2 separate regions of the Homo sapiens genome follow, and region 2 is linked to region 1. Evidence: promoter capture Hi-C in 16 types of primary human blood cells and fetal thymus (Javierre and others, 2016). All regions are on one chromosome and are shown on one strand. The core of a region is centred on a gene start or on the middle of the fragment in contact, and the rest is flanking DNA. Distances in the headings are between cores, read along the strand shown.

What was found. Contacts are between HindIII fragments. The CHiCAGO score rates a contact against its expected background, and 5 or more counts as called.
Region 2: a fragment that was not itself captured here is called in contact with the fragment with the promoter of LINC01124 in region 1 in 1 of 17 cell types (non-activated CD4 T cells); the score reaches 5.8 in non-activated CD4 T cells.

Annotation. Positions count from the first base shown.
Region 1 is chr2:170,711,537-170,718,217 of GRCh38, forward strand. It overlaps LINC01124 (long intergenic non-protein coding RNA 1124), which reads right to left and starts at 3,031. Exons shown (of 1, transcript NR_027433.1): 1 at 903-3,031. It overlaps SP5 (Sp5 transcription factor), which reads left to right and starts at 3,801. Exons shown (of 2, transcript NM_001003845.3): 1 at 3,801-4,027; 2 at 4,723-6,542. The coding sequence starts at 3,977. The coding sequence ends at 5,868. All of the region lies in intron 5 of ERICH2-DT (ERICH2 divergent transcript), which reads right to left. It overlaps LOC100130256 (a long non-coding RNA gene), which reads right to left and starts at 471. Exons shown (of 10, transcript NR_187629.1): 1 at 328-471. RefSeq lists a silencer at 3,118-3,167 and enhancers at 3,385-4,174, 4,175-4,962, 4,963-5,752. The HindIII fragment of the contact is 7,273 bases long and covers 236-6,681 here.
Region 2 is chr2:170,555,833-170,562,513 of GRCh38, forward strand. The region is part of intron 32 of MYO3B (myosin IIIB); the gene reads left to right. Among named protein-coding and RNA genes, the nearest start is that of LINC01124, 160 kb to the right of the region's middle. The HindIII fragment of the contact is 1,720 bases long and covers 4,119-5,838 here.

The DNA of each region.
Region 1 (6,681 bases), core at 1,781-4,280:
TAGGCAGATATGGGCAACTGCAAAATTGAGTCTCCTTGGCAAGGAGTGGGGAGATCCAGCCGATTAAGCAACATCTTACTGTGAAAGGCCAAAGCATTAAGAATTTGCTGAAATGATCTAAATAATATCTAGATTTTTAAAAAATCTAGCTTGAGAGGGGTGACTCTCTGGTTGGATTTATGCCAGAGGCATGCGTCCCTTCTAGCTGCAAGAAAATGCCCGAGGCGAGGTACCAAGCTTGGGCTGGAAGTAGCAACCCCTGACTTAATCCCAGAGCGCGCAGAGCTGGTCCGTCCCCTGCGCAAGTGTCACTGCGGGTTCACCTACCGGCCTCTTCCTCTCGCAGGTGGCATGCAGTCGGCGCTCGCCGCCCGCCCGCAAAGAAACGGCAATGCAAACTTCCCAGCCTGGGAACCCCGCTGCTTGGAGAGCAGCTCCGCTGTGCCAGCCGCCGCCAGGAGACTGGTATTCAACCTCCCCGCCCCCCGCCACGGTTAAAGTTTGCTCCACATTCGCAGCTCCCACCCCACCCCCATCTCCGCCCCGAGGCAGGAGGACCACATAGGAGTTCCTGGGTCCACCGTGCGCAAACACACCCACCAACAAAAGAAAGCCCATTAAATCTTCCCTCCTGTGAACTCGCGCCCCAACGGATACCTCTTTGAACTGACCCCCGCCCCCGCAGCCCCCGCGCTGTCTGGGGCGCGCCTGGCCCTCCCGGGCTTACTCTCTCCCCCACAGCTGCGCACTTTTGCAGCGCGCTCGGTCTTTGATGTCTCTTTACATTATGGCAGAGCAGCCACACGCTCTTCCCGGGCGCGGGGCTTTGTGTAATGGAACTGACATTTGGCCTTGATACCTGTATCTCTTGGTGATTACAACAAATTTCTAAAATAAATATTGTACTTTGATCTCCCAGCATTGCATTTTTAATGGACGCTCTCAACATTACTTCATTAAGAACTTTTTCCAGGAGCTCCGAGGGCCAAGGGGGTTGGGGGAGACTAAACAGCTATTCAGCAAAGCCTCTCTCCAAACTTCAGCTGGGGCCTGGGAGGACCGGAATCTGGACGGGTTTTCACAAACGGAGATGAGGCCGAGAGCAGCCAACTGCGACCACTCAAGAGAGGGCCTTCTGTACGCTCAGCACCGTCCTAAAGACCTTGCGTATATTAACTCTTAAACCTATAGCCACTCTACAAGGGGTGCACTATTGTAACTCCCATTTTACAAACCGCAAAACTGAGGTACACAGCGGCTGAGTACCTTGCTTGCCAAGGTCACCAACTAGAAAGTGGCAAGGCGGGAAAAATGTCTTCAGAGAGTTCGGACTCCGAGCTTTCAACCACCAAGCCACTAACTTTGACCCTGTTGGCCCACTGATGGTTTAACTGGCTAATGGGGGCATCTTGGAGAAAAAGCTAATTCCCATAACTATGGGGATGTGAAATGGCTTTTCTGGCCTTTTTGGGAAAGTAGCTATCAGATTCAATAAAAAGGGCTGCCTTCCATCCTGCTTAGCCCGGCCCTGCCCGCCTCCCTGGGAAAGGGGACTTCGAAGATCTCAAAGAAGCTGGAAAGGAAACCAGCGCTAAGGAACCAGATCGCTTCGAGGGTGCAAGCATGTGCAGGCGCGAGTGTGTGCCAAGGGGCTCCCTGGCCTCCGACTTGCATCCAGGGAAGAGCTCCCTCGAGTCTCACGCTTCTCCAAGACTCAAATCCTGGACGGGAGCGTGGGAAGGAGCAGGTTGGCCAGGCCTCGGATGAAACCACTAAGCTCTCTCCCCTTCTCCGCTCCCAGAGCAGCCGACCTCATCTTCAGAAGCCAGATCGGGTCGGCCAAGTTGTGTGGTCGCCGCTCGCGTTTTAGAGGGGACAACTCGTTGGGGGAGAAGGGGGCGTGCGAGTGCAGGATGTGCGAGGGACCCATTGTATTTGGGTCGCAAGCAGCCCACCCGTCTTGAGTACGATATTCTCATTCCGCAGGCGCGCCCTGGGCGTGGGAGAAGGTGGGCCCGGAGGCATCGCATCCCCGACCCCTGATGGAAGTGCGGAGGGCATCCTTATACAGTCCAGATTCCGAGTCCGTTGTAGTTAGGCTAACCTCTGACGCTGCATCGGGAGATAGGTCACCCCGTCCGTCCCGGTCGCAGTGCGGTTCCCGTGAGGAAGACGGGCAGAGAGGCCGGGCGCGAACTGATTAGGGGCTCCCCCACGGCCGGCGGCCTGGAGAGTGGAGACTGTGTCCGACGGGAGGTGGGTGGGGGAGAGGAGTAGGCCGAGCTCCGGCGGCCACTCCGCAGTGCGCTCTCGCGAGCCGGGGCCGCGAGGCCTCCAACGCGGTTCCGCACCCCTAATGCCCCAGGGCGGTGAGCACCCCGCGGTTCCCCGCCCGCCTCTTCCTCCTTCCCCGCCCGCGCGCCCGGGAGAGGCGATCCCCGCGTCCGCAGTGCCGGGGCAGGACGCGCCCTGCGCCCTGGGCCAGGAGGAGGCAGGTGGCCCTCCTCGGCAGGAGGTGAGCCGCCAGGGAGGGATGGGGGTCACCCAAGCCCCTGCAAGCGCGACCCTGCCCAGAGCAAAGCACGCCCCGCGCCTGGTGAGGAACTTTTTCTTTCCAAAGGTGGCAGGAACAAGTCTGTACTGACTTTTCTCCCGCCTTCGGGATCCTCTCTCGTATGATTTGTGGTTTGTGGGACCACAACAACCAGGCTTCCTCGACCGCGCCTTTTTTCCAGTAGCTCCTGGTCTGCCAGGCTTGCGAGAGGGCGCGCTGGCTTGGCGGGGCTCCGGGCGAGAAATCACCAGCAGCGCTGGGGCTTTCGGCCCCCCACAGCCCAGCCCGGGCCTCCTGGGTGGCCTGGGGAGAAGGGGGCGGGACAGCACAGCTTCTTCCCCTCGGGTGGGCATGACGGGTCGCCTTGGGTGTCCTGCCGAGCTCAGCTTTGAGGGTATGCGCGGCGCGGGTGTTTTTCCCAGGTCCACTCTGCAAAAGTTGTGGCCTGAGGAAAACTTCCAGGTCGCCAGCAGGAACGTCACAGGAGAGCCCCGGTCGCTCGTCAGGCGGGCGGCCCTGGAGCGTGCGCGCCACCCAACGCCGCGCTGGGCGGCCGCCCGGCCCCGCCCCAGGTCACAGCCCTGCCCTCGGCCCCACCGCGGCGGGCGGGGGACACGCGGCGGGCCGGGCGCTGTCGGTCCCACGCCCCACCGGGGATCTCGCTTGGGTCCGCTGTGTGCGCGGGCGGGTGCGTGTGCGGCGAGGGTGCAGGGTGTGCAAGTAAATACAGGGGAGAGTTACACTCTTTGCCGTCTCAAAGTCCGGCGCCTGGAAGCCGAAGGCAGATTTTTCCAGAGATAACAAAGACACTTTGTCACTTTGGGCGCTGCGTCGGTGCAAATCTTTAATTGCAAGTGTGTGTGTGTGTGTGTGTGTGTATGTTGGGGGGGGCGGGAAGAGTGTCTCGAGCAACCCAAGCGCGGGTCTCCAGGCGGCAAGGCCCCCTTTGATCAGGAAAATCCAATTATTTGTGTATATACATTTCCCACATAGTGATTACTTCATTAATTGTCCCGCCTTTATCTCCTCCCTTCCCATCCCCCCTAATAATCAGTTCTTTTATCCAGACCAACAAACACACCATAGGAGCTTTGTGGATTCAAAGGATTTGCTTTCGCTTCTGAAAGAGCCGCTATTCTTTGATGATTGGGTAGCGGCAAACTTCAAAGCCATAAATCTTCCCTCTGACTGGCTGGCGGCCCAGCAAAGTCCTTATCAAATTCTTGGAGGTGATCCTGAAGCGCTCAGACCGCGCGCGGGGCGAGCGAGCGGGGCGCGGCGAGGGGCAAGGGCGGGGAGGGCCCCGGCGCTCAGAGCAGGCGCCAGGGAGGCAGGCTGGGCGGCCCTTCGTCCTCGCCTTCGGGTGTCCATGCCTCGGCGGCGGCGTCCCGCTCCGCAGCCAGGGGCCTGCAAGCCGTAGCCATGGCCGCGGTGGCCGTCCTCCGGAACGACTCGCTGCAGGCCTTTCTCCAGGTCAGGGCCGAGCCCGGAGGGGGCGGGAGAAAGGTGGAAAGGGCCGTGTCCGGATCTCTCCTGGTACTCCGTGCACCTTGAACCTCAAAGGGAACCCCGCCGATGGGTGCAGCTGGAGCCAGGCCTAGGGGTGCCCACGCCAACTTCACACCTAATCCGGTGTGGCCTTTGCTGGAGGGACGCGTGGATCCGGGATTGTTCGGAGGTGCCCGGCTGGCCGAGAACAGGACCGGAGCTCACCCTGCTGGGCCCTCCTGCTGATTTCAGCCTGGGGCGGGCCAGGGAGGAGCGCGAAGGCAGTGAGGACAAGAGAGCTTAAAAGATGGGAGGGAGAGCGGCCGGCCGGCGGGGTTGTGGGTGTTTCCCGACTCTTACTGACCACGGAGCCGGGAGGGGCCCGTCGGATGCCTCCCCCTCCCACTTCGCGCCTGCTTCCTCTAAGGCTGGATGGCGTCTCAGTGCACCAAGTAGTTTAGCAAGAAGCGCTCGCGGGCCCCACGTTCAGGTAGCGCAGGCACCAAAAGTTTCCCTCGGCCGGTGGGTGCGTGCGTGGGGTGCGGTGGCGGGGGAGGGACGGCCGGGACGGAGGAGGGGCGGCGGTATAATAGCGGGCGTGGGGGCGGCGGGCTGGCCCGGAGTCCGCGCTTGGAGCTAACCTTTTGTCTCTTCTCCGCCCTCCCTCGCCGCCTATGCAGGACCGCACCCCCAGCGCCTCCCCGGACCTGGGCAAGCACTCGCCCCTGGCATTGCTGGCCGCCACCTGTAGCCGCATCGGCCAGCCGGGCGCGGCGGCGCCCCCGGACTTCCTGCAGGTGCCCTACGACCCCGCGCTGGGCTCACCCTCCAGGCTCTTCCACCCGTGGACCGCCGACATGCCGGCGCACTCGCCAGGCGCACTGCCGCCCCCGCATCCCAGCTTGGGGCTGACGCCGCAGAAGACGCACCTGCAGCCGTCCTTCGGGGCTGCGCACGAGCTTCCCCTTACACCCCCCGCCGACCCCTCGTACCCCTACGAGTTCTCGCCGGTCAAGATGCTGCCCTCGAGCATGGCGGCTCTGCCCGCCAGCTGCGCGCCCGCCTACGTGCCCTACGCGGCGCAGGCCGCGCTGCCGCCAGGCTACTCCAACCTGCTGCCTCCGCCGCCGCCACCGCCCCCGCCGCCCACCTGCCGCCAGTTGTCACCCAACCCGGCCCCCGACGACCTCCCGTGGTGGAGCATCCCGCAGGCGGGCGCCGGGCCGGGGGCCTCCGGGGTTCCGGGAAGCGGCCTCTCCGGCGCCTGTGCCGGGGCCCCCCACGCGCCCCGCTTCCCCGCCTCTGCGGCCGCTGCTGCTGCGGCCGCCGCCGCCCTACAAAGAGGCCTGGTGTTGGGCCCGTCGGACTTTGCGCAGTACCAGAGCCAGATCGCCGCGCTGCTGCAGACCAAGGCCCCCCTGGCGGCCACGGCCAGGAGGTGCCGCCGCTGCCGCTGTCCCAACTGCCAGGCGGCGGGCGGCGCCCCCGAGGCGGAGCCGGGGAAGAAGAAGCAGCACGTGTGCCACGTGCCGGGCTGCGGCAAGGTGTACGGGAAGACGTCGCACCTGAAGGCGCACCTGCGCTGGCACACGGGCGAGCGACCCTTCGTGTGCAACTGGCTCTTCTGCGGGAAGAGCTTCACGCGCTCGGACGAGCTGCAGCGGCACCTGCGGACTCACACGGGCGAGAAGCGCTTTGCCTGTCCCGAGTGCGGCAAGCGCTTCATGCGCAGCGACCACCTCGCGAAGCACGTCAAGACTCACCAGAATAAGAAGCTCAAAGTCGCTGAGGCCGGGGTTAAGCGGGAGGACGCGCGGGACCTGTGAGCCCTCCCGGAGGTGGACCCCCTTCCCAGCACCTCTGCGAGAGATCCGGGGACCTGTGGGCAGCTGGCGGAGGGGAGACTCAGCAGACGGACCCTCTCCGTTGCCTGCCTCCCAAAATGGAGCCAGGCTTCCAACTTCCGCTGCCTTCGGACATAGGGACCCAGTTCCCAGGAGCGGGGAGGTAGGGTTGGGGCTGGGGCATTTGGATTGTAATTGGGAGCTCTGCCGTACGCCAGGGCGGTTCCAAACTCTAAACCGTTCCCACCGTCAGGGAGACCTACAGTTTCGGGGGACCACCCTGGTCTGGCCTTGTATATAGGAAATGCTGCTGAACTGAATAGAAAGGAACTTGGGAGATTTGAAACAGTGCTCGGGTTTTCGCTAGGACCGGTTTGGGCTTTGTACAGGTTATTTAATAGCTTTGTTAAAGATAATTATAATAATTATAACATTAATAAAAATGTTGCTTTTGTCTTCAGCTCCATGCAGAGCTACAGCATGATATGTCTCTGTAAAGTGATCAGCAGTTGCAGCGTGAAAATAAATACTTTAACTCAGGGGTCACTACAGGAAGACCCCGTTGAGCCGGTCTCATTTGATCTTTTCTTCTTCTGGGTGGCTGTACTAAGCGGTCGGGTTTCCCCGGGAATTTGATGGTTCCTATAGTCTGCCTGTGTCGGAGGCTTCTTTGGTTTGGAAGGATCTGGGCAAATGTGTTGGGTTCAGGAATGGACAAAGGCAGGCAATTCCGTTTTGTGGTAAAGAGGTAGGGCAAGATTTTCCAATCACAATTTGAGTTTCTCATGCGGCCTT
Region 2 (6,681 bases), core at 3,729-6,228, 150 kb before region 1:
CTGCACTCCAGCCTAGGCAGTAGAGCAAGATCCTATCTCTAAAATAATAATAATAATATGCATTTAAGATTCCTCCATGTCGGCTGGGTGTGGTGGCTCATGCTTGTAATCCCAGCACTTTGGGAGGCCAAGACAGGTGGATCACTTGAGGTCAGGAGTTCTAGACCAGCCTGAGAAACATGACGAAACACTGTCTCTACTAAAAGTACAAAAATTAGCTGGGCGTAATAGCACACGCCTGTAATCCCAGCTACTCAGGAGGCTGAGGCAGGAGAATCACTTGAACCTGGGAGGCAGAGGTTGCAGTGAGCCGAGATCACGCCATTGAACTCCAGCCTGGGCAACAGACCAAGACTCTGTCTAGAAAAAAAAAAAAAGATTCCTTCATGTCTTGTCATGGCTTGATAGCTTAATATCTTGGTTGCTTCCAAGTTTGGACAATTATGAGTGAACCTACCATAAACATTTGTGTTCAGGTTTTGGTGTGGATGTAACTTTTTAATTCATTTGAGTTAATACCTAGGAGCATGATTACTGGATTGTGTGGTAAGAGTATGTTTAGCTTTGCAAGAAACTGCCAAACTGTCTTCCAAACTGGCTTTACCATTTTGCATTTCCTTCAGCAATGAGTGAGAGTTCCTGTTGCTCTGCATCATTGTCAGCCTTTGGGGTCGTCAGTATCTTGGATTTTTACTTTTTTTTTTTTGAGACAGAGTTTAGCTCTTGTTGCCCAAGCTGGAGTACAATGGCACGATCTTGGCTCACTGCAACTTCTGCCTCCCGGACTCAAGTGATTCTCCTGCCTCAGCTTCCCAAGTAGCTGGGATTACAGGCATGTGTCACCACGTCTGGCTAATTTTTTGTATTTCAGTAGAAACGGGGTTTCACCATGTTAGCCAGGCTGGTCTCGAACTCCTGACCTCAGGTGCTCCACCTGCCTTGGCCTCCCAAAGTGCTGGGATTACAGGCGTGAGCCACTGCACCTGGCCAGATTTTGACATTTTAATAGTTGTGTAGTCACATCTCATTATTTTAATTTGCAATTCACTGATAACATGATATTAAGCATCTTTTCACAGCTTATTTCTTTCACATGCTTATTTGACATCTGTGCGTCTTATTTGGTGAGGTATCTATTCAGATTTTTTGACCATTTTAAAATTGCATTGTTTGTTTTCCTATTCTTGAGTTTTAAGAGTTCTTTGTATATTTTGGATACAGTCCTACGTTAGATACGTGTTTTTTTTTGTTTTTCTTTCCAACTTTTCTTTTAGGTTCAAAGGGTATGTCTGCAGGGTTTTTTATTTTTATTTTTATTTTTTTTTGAGACGGAGTCTCGCTCTGTCGCCCAGGCTGGAGTGCAGTGGCACGATCTCGGCTCACTGCAAGCTCCGCCTCCTGGGTTCACGCCATTCTTCTGCCTCAGCTTCCGGAGTTGCTGGGACTACAGGCGCCCACCACCATGCCCAGCTAATTTCTTGTATTTTTAGTAGAGATGGGGTTTCACTGTGTTAGCCAGGATGGTCTCCATCTCCTGACCTCGTGATCCGCCCGCCTCTGCCTCCCAAAGTGCTATTTATGTTTGCTAAGTTACTAAAACTCCTGGAAAAACTAGAAAAACTCAGGTTGTCTGCTAAAACAGTATTTAGCAAGAGATCAGTTTGTTGGTTTAAATTTCAGAGAGGGCTGGGAGATAATAAAATATACCTTTATTCCTCATTCATTAGGATATTTGTCCAGCAGATGTTACTTGAGCACCCACTAAATGGCAGACACTATGTTTGATATAATACAGGGAGCAAGAGCCAGGCTTGCTCTTGTGAAATTTATATTCTGAGAGAGATGGACAAATAAATTTGAAAACAAGTCTGCTTTGACTAGGGTGTTGATAGGGGTGAGCACAGGAGCTGTGGGAGCTCCAACGGTGATATGTGGTCTCCAGGAAAGGTTCAGATAAGCTTACTCCAAAACTCAGACCTGCAGCGAAGAGTCAGAAAAGATGTTTCCAGCCGTCTGCCCATTCTTTTTCCACACGGGGAGAAGCTCACATGTGAGAGATACAAGATCAAGGTGGTTGTTTATTTTGTTTTGCACCCCCAGCCCCCATCCTTGGTTATTTTTGGTTTTGCCTTTTAAAAAATTCTGAAATGTAACATGCTTACAGAAAAAAAAAATTCTTAAAACGGAGGCCAGACACCGTGGCTCATGCCTGTAATCCCAACACTTTGGGAGACCAAGGCGGGCGGATCACAAGGTCAGGAGATCAAGACCATCCTGGCTAACACGGTGAAATCCCATCTCTACTACAAATACAAAAAATTAGCCGAGCATGGTGGCGGGCGCCTGTGGTCCCAGCTACTCAGGAGGCTGAGGCAGGAGAATGGTGTGAACCCGGGAGGCGGAGCTTGCGGTGAGCTGAGATCGTACCACTGTACTCCAGCCTGGTACAGACAGAGTGAGACTCTGTCTCCAAAAAAAAAAAAATGCTTAAAACGAAAATGGACAGTATAATAAATTATTATAATGCAAGCACCATGTGAGCACAACCGAGATCACAAAACAGTCCTTGCCAGTGCCACAGAAGCCATCAGCATGCCCTTTCAGGATTATGACTCTCTTCCTGCATCCTACAGGTAACCACCTAAATATGTGTCTCTAAATATTATAGCTTAATTTTGCCTGTTTTTAAACTTTGCACAGCTGGAACCACATAGCATATATTCTTTGACTTCTAGCTTTTTCTCTTTTTTCCCTTAACATTATATTTTAAAGATTCACTTGTATATTTTCGTTACTGTATAGTATCCCATTTTAGGATGAGAGCACACTTTATGCATTCATGTTTCTGTTGATGGGCATCTGGGTTGTTTCTAGTTTGGAACCCTTACAAAGAAGAGATGTTCATGGATGATGGTCCCATACCCTTGGCAGGGTGGCAAAGCTGGCTTTGGAGTCAGTCAAACTTAAATTTACATCCCATCTATGCCACTCTAATAGCTTTGTGACTTTGGTCAAGTTAACTTAATCTCCCTATATCCCTCTTTCCTCATCTCCAAAATAGGAATAGTAACAGTACCTACGTCATAGGGTATAGATGTAAGGTGCTTAACACACTACTTCACATGTAGTAAGCACTCAACAAAAATTTGGTGCTGCATGGAGTTATTCTTGTTACTCATAGGAATATTTCATTTTTATTTGAGGAAGTTTTCTACAGAGTTAATATGGCCTAACCTATCCAGATTTAAGATTGTAGAAGCTTTCAAGGTCTTTTGTTCAACTCTCATTTTATAGATGAAAAGACTGCATATTAGTTGGCCAACCCAGAGCTAGAACCCAACCCAGAGCTGGGCTTTAGGGAGACATAGAGTCAGTAGTACCTCTGGATCAGCATTCTGGCACAGGCTATTCTTAAGGGCTCATTGGATGGCCATTTTAGCTTCTTAAATGTATTCTCCTCTTTGTTCTTTAAATAAATGGGAAAATAGAAGCCTTAAGGGGTTGACCAGTTAGCTCTATATTTGGCTGTAGACTGTAAAGTCTATTACATTATATCCAAGTTGTTTGATTATTTATTCATTGGTCAGAATTTAGGGTTTCAAGGGCTCTATCCTAATTAGGCCAAAAGATCAGAGAGCAAAATAAGGCACATAAAGCCATGCCTGGGGGATTATTGGCATTAGGTAGAGGTGTTTTGTTTAGTTTGGACTGCAGTTGAATTTGGATTAAAAATACTTGCAATTTTTTAAAAAGAACAGATATATCTCTTATTAAACAAACTATAAATATAGTTTGGATAATGACGGGAGGGAGAAATTCAACATAAACTGGATATTAAATGAGTCTGTAATTTTTCTCCCTACCAAGAACAATTCACAATGACTTCCTGACCTCCCACTTTCAAATCATGCACTCTATCCTAGACTAGAGCTTTGCCTGAGCACTGCCCACCACCATCACCCCCACACTCACTCCTCCGGTCCCACATTGTCCCCTCTTTCCAGTGTTTTGCTGATATTTAAGGTTTTTATTACACTAAAATTCCCTGTTCTGTGATCTGTGTTCCTGGGTTCCTAAGAATGTGTGTGTGTTTGTCTGTGTGTGTGTGATGCTCTGGAAGCTTTGAGGGGATTCTGGGTCAGGACTTATCCAAAAATAAGACTCCAGATTATTAGCTTACTACATGTAGAATAATGCCTGGTACATAGTAAGCATCTAATAAAGTTTAGCTGCTGCTACTGCTATTTCTTACTCTTCCATTGCGAATCACTTTTGAAAGTACCTAATTTCCAAGTTTAGCAACTCCTTTCTTCTTTCCACTCAAATTATCAAGTCTTCTGGAGTGCGCTACAATTTCTAAAAAACTACACTTGTTTTCCCTCGATACTACCACAAGTCTCAAGAGTATATCACCTTGAATCTTTACTGCATTTGAGTGGGACCAATTTGTTGGTATTTTCTGTGTCTGGCAGTTTGTGTAATGGGAGGGAGTTGTTTCATTAATCCACCTAAATGGTTTCAGGAATATTTATAGCTCCCACAGACTCAGATCCCCAAGTCACCATCCAGAAAGGTCTGTTTGGCTGCTTAGCAGTGAGCAATTAGAACAGCCAGTCTACCCAGACACCAGGCTGGTTTGTCTGACCTAATATACGTGAAGACTCAGTGTTCCCAAAGGGATTCTTCCTTTTTAGAGGAAGAAATTAATGATATCCCTTTTTGTTAAATTGGTGCCAGTATTTTCCCTAAGCAGCCCATTTAAAAGAGCAAATTCAAACAGGGTCCAAGAAACAATTGCAAGAGATCTACAAAGATCTTAGGGGATGAGTTTACACACTATCCTAATTTCAAAGGAGCCGTTTTTATGCCAGGACACAATGGCTGGGTTCTCCCAATGGATACACACCCACTGTAAATGGCAAACTCTGCATTTGTGCAGAAATCAGATAAATGGAAAGAGCTCTAGATTTGTTTCTGCTCTTAACTGATTTGTCCTCCAAAGCACAGTTTCCATGCTAACTCATTAGCCTGGGTGAATGCTGGGGGTACCGACGGGGGACAGAACATCCAAGGATCCATTCTAAATCTCCGAGGGTCAGATTACAAAGTGTTCATTCCTTTTTTGTCCTTCACTGCTGTATTTACCCATGTCCAGAGCAGTCAGCTCACAACACACTTGTACTCTGCCTTCTGATTTTCAACTTGGGTTGCCATTAAGAAAGCAAGGTACCTCCCTTCTCTTGTGTGCTGCTTATTCTTTGCCCTAGACCCACATTCTCATATTCAGTCCATTAATGGAACCCCCATTCATGTCATGTAGCAGTTTCTATTTAACACTGGGAGGGCACTGGGAAACAGTCCATTATGTTGTCTCTCCCCTTAAAAGAAGAGTTAGAATGGATGCCTCCCTCTCATCTACCACCCTGAGCAAATTAACCCATATGACCAGAAGGGACAACCTGTGAATAACCACTGAATGATTAGAGGATTGAACATATACTGCATAAAGGTTTTACTTACTAGTTATCTGTACCCAGAGGATTCTAAACATTGCCCTTAGAGTGACAATCTTTTCTTCAGCAGTCTGACAAATGGTCATCCATGCTAATTTCCCACATTCTTTTGCACATCTTTTTACATCACAAGCCTCTGTGGGAGGCTAATGGAATCCATGCACCCTAACTCTAGAAAAATGCACAAATGTACACCGGCAACATTTTGCACATAAAATCCTTAATACCTTCATGTTCCCATCAGGATCTGTATCCCAGGTTAAGAATTCTTGTACTAATGAGAGGAATTGACTAATTGTAAAGACTATCAATTTTATGTTTGGGAAGCTTGATCGAAGGATTTTTCTTCCCATGTGGTAGTTCTTCAAGTATTTGTAGATTGCTCTTTTTTGGTTAGATGTCTCTTTGGGGGATATGTCTCTATAAATCATCAGATGACCCTCAAAAGTTATTTAAGAAAATTTTGTGCTATGATTAAAGTCTTTGGGCTAGAAGATGTACACGCAATACATAAAAAGAATAGACCTGTGGTTTCTCAAAAATGCCAAGGCAGGTTGCTATAGTCTTTTTCTTCTTCATTAAACAACAACAACAAAAAGTTGATTCCTTTAAAAAAAAACCTCAGAATTCTTGAAAAAAATAAAAACATTGAATCCTGTGTTTATTGCTCCATCATCTTAATTTGTTTTTGATTTAAAAAATTACTTGGCCATTGCTCAATTTTTCATATTTAATAGAAACAGAAGGAGAATTATTAGTGGAATTCTAAAGTTAGAACATGAAGATTGGGATAATATTTCACATTTTACTTTTAGCTCTCTGCAAAGTGGTGGTAATGTTTTCTGAGCCACTGTTACATGCTCAGATAATTTATGCACAACATAAATTAGTGTTATTGCTCTCTTTGAAAGCAGTTTTTTCCTGGTTCTCATTCATATCCGTATAAACTTAGATGTTAACCCTATTTTGACGTTTTAGACCACTGATTTTAAAAGAGTAATGATAGTTCCAGATATCTCAGATATTTTGTTTTGGAGTTTTTACATTGTCTCTAGTTTTTCTTTCATCAAAGGCTGAAATTTGGTAGAATTTAGAGAAGAATTATGATATAGAAAAATAACCCCAAAAGCCGACAAAACCCAAAAATAACAATAACAACCAAAGCTTA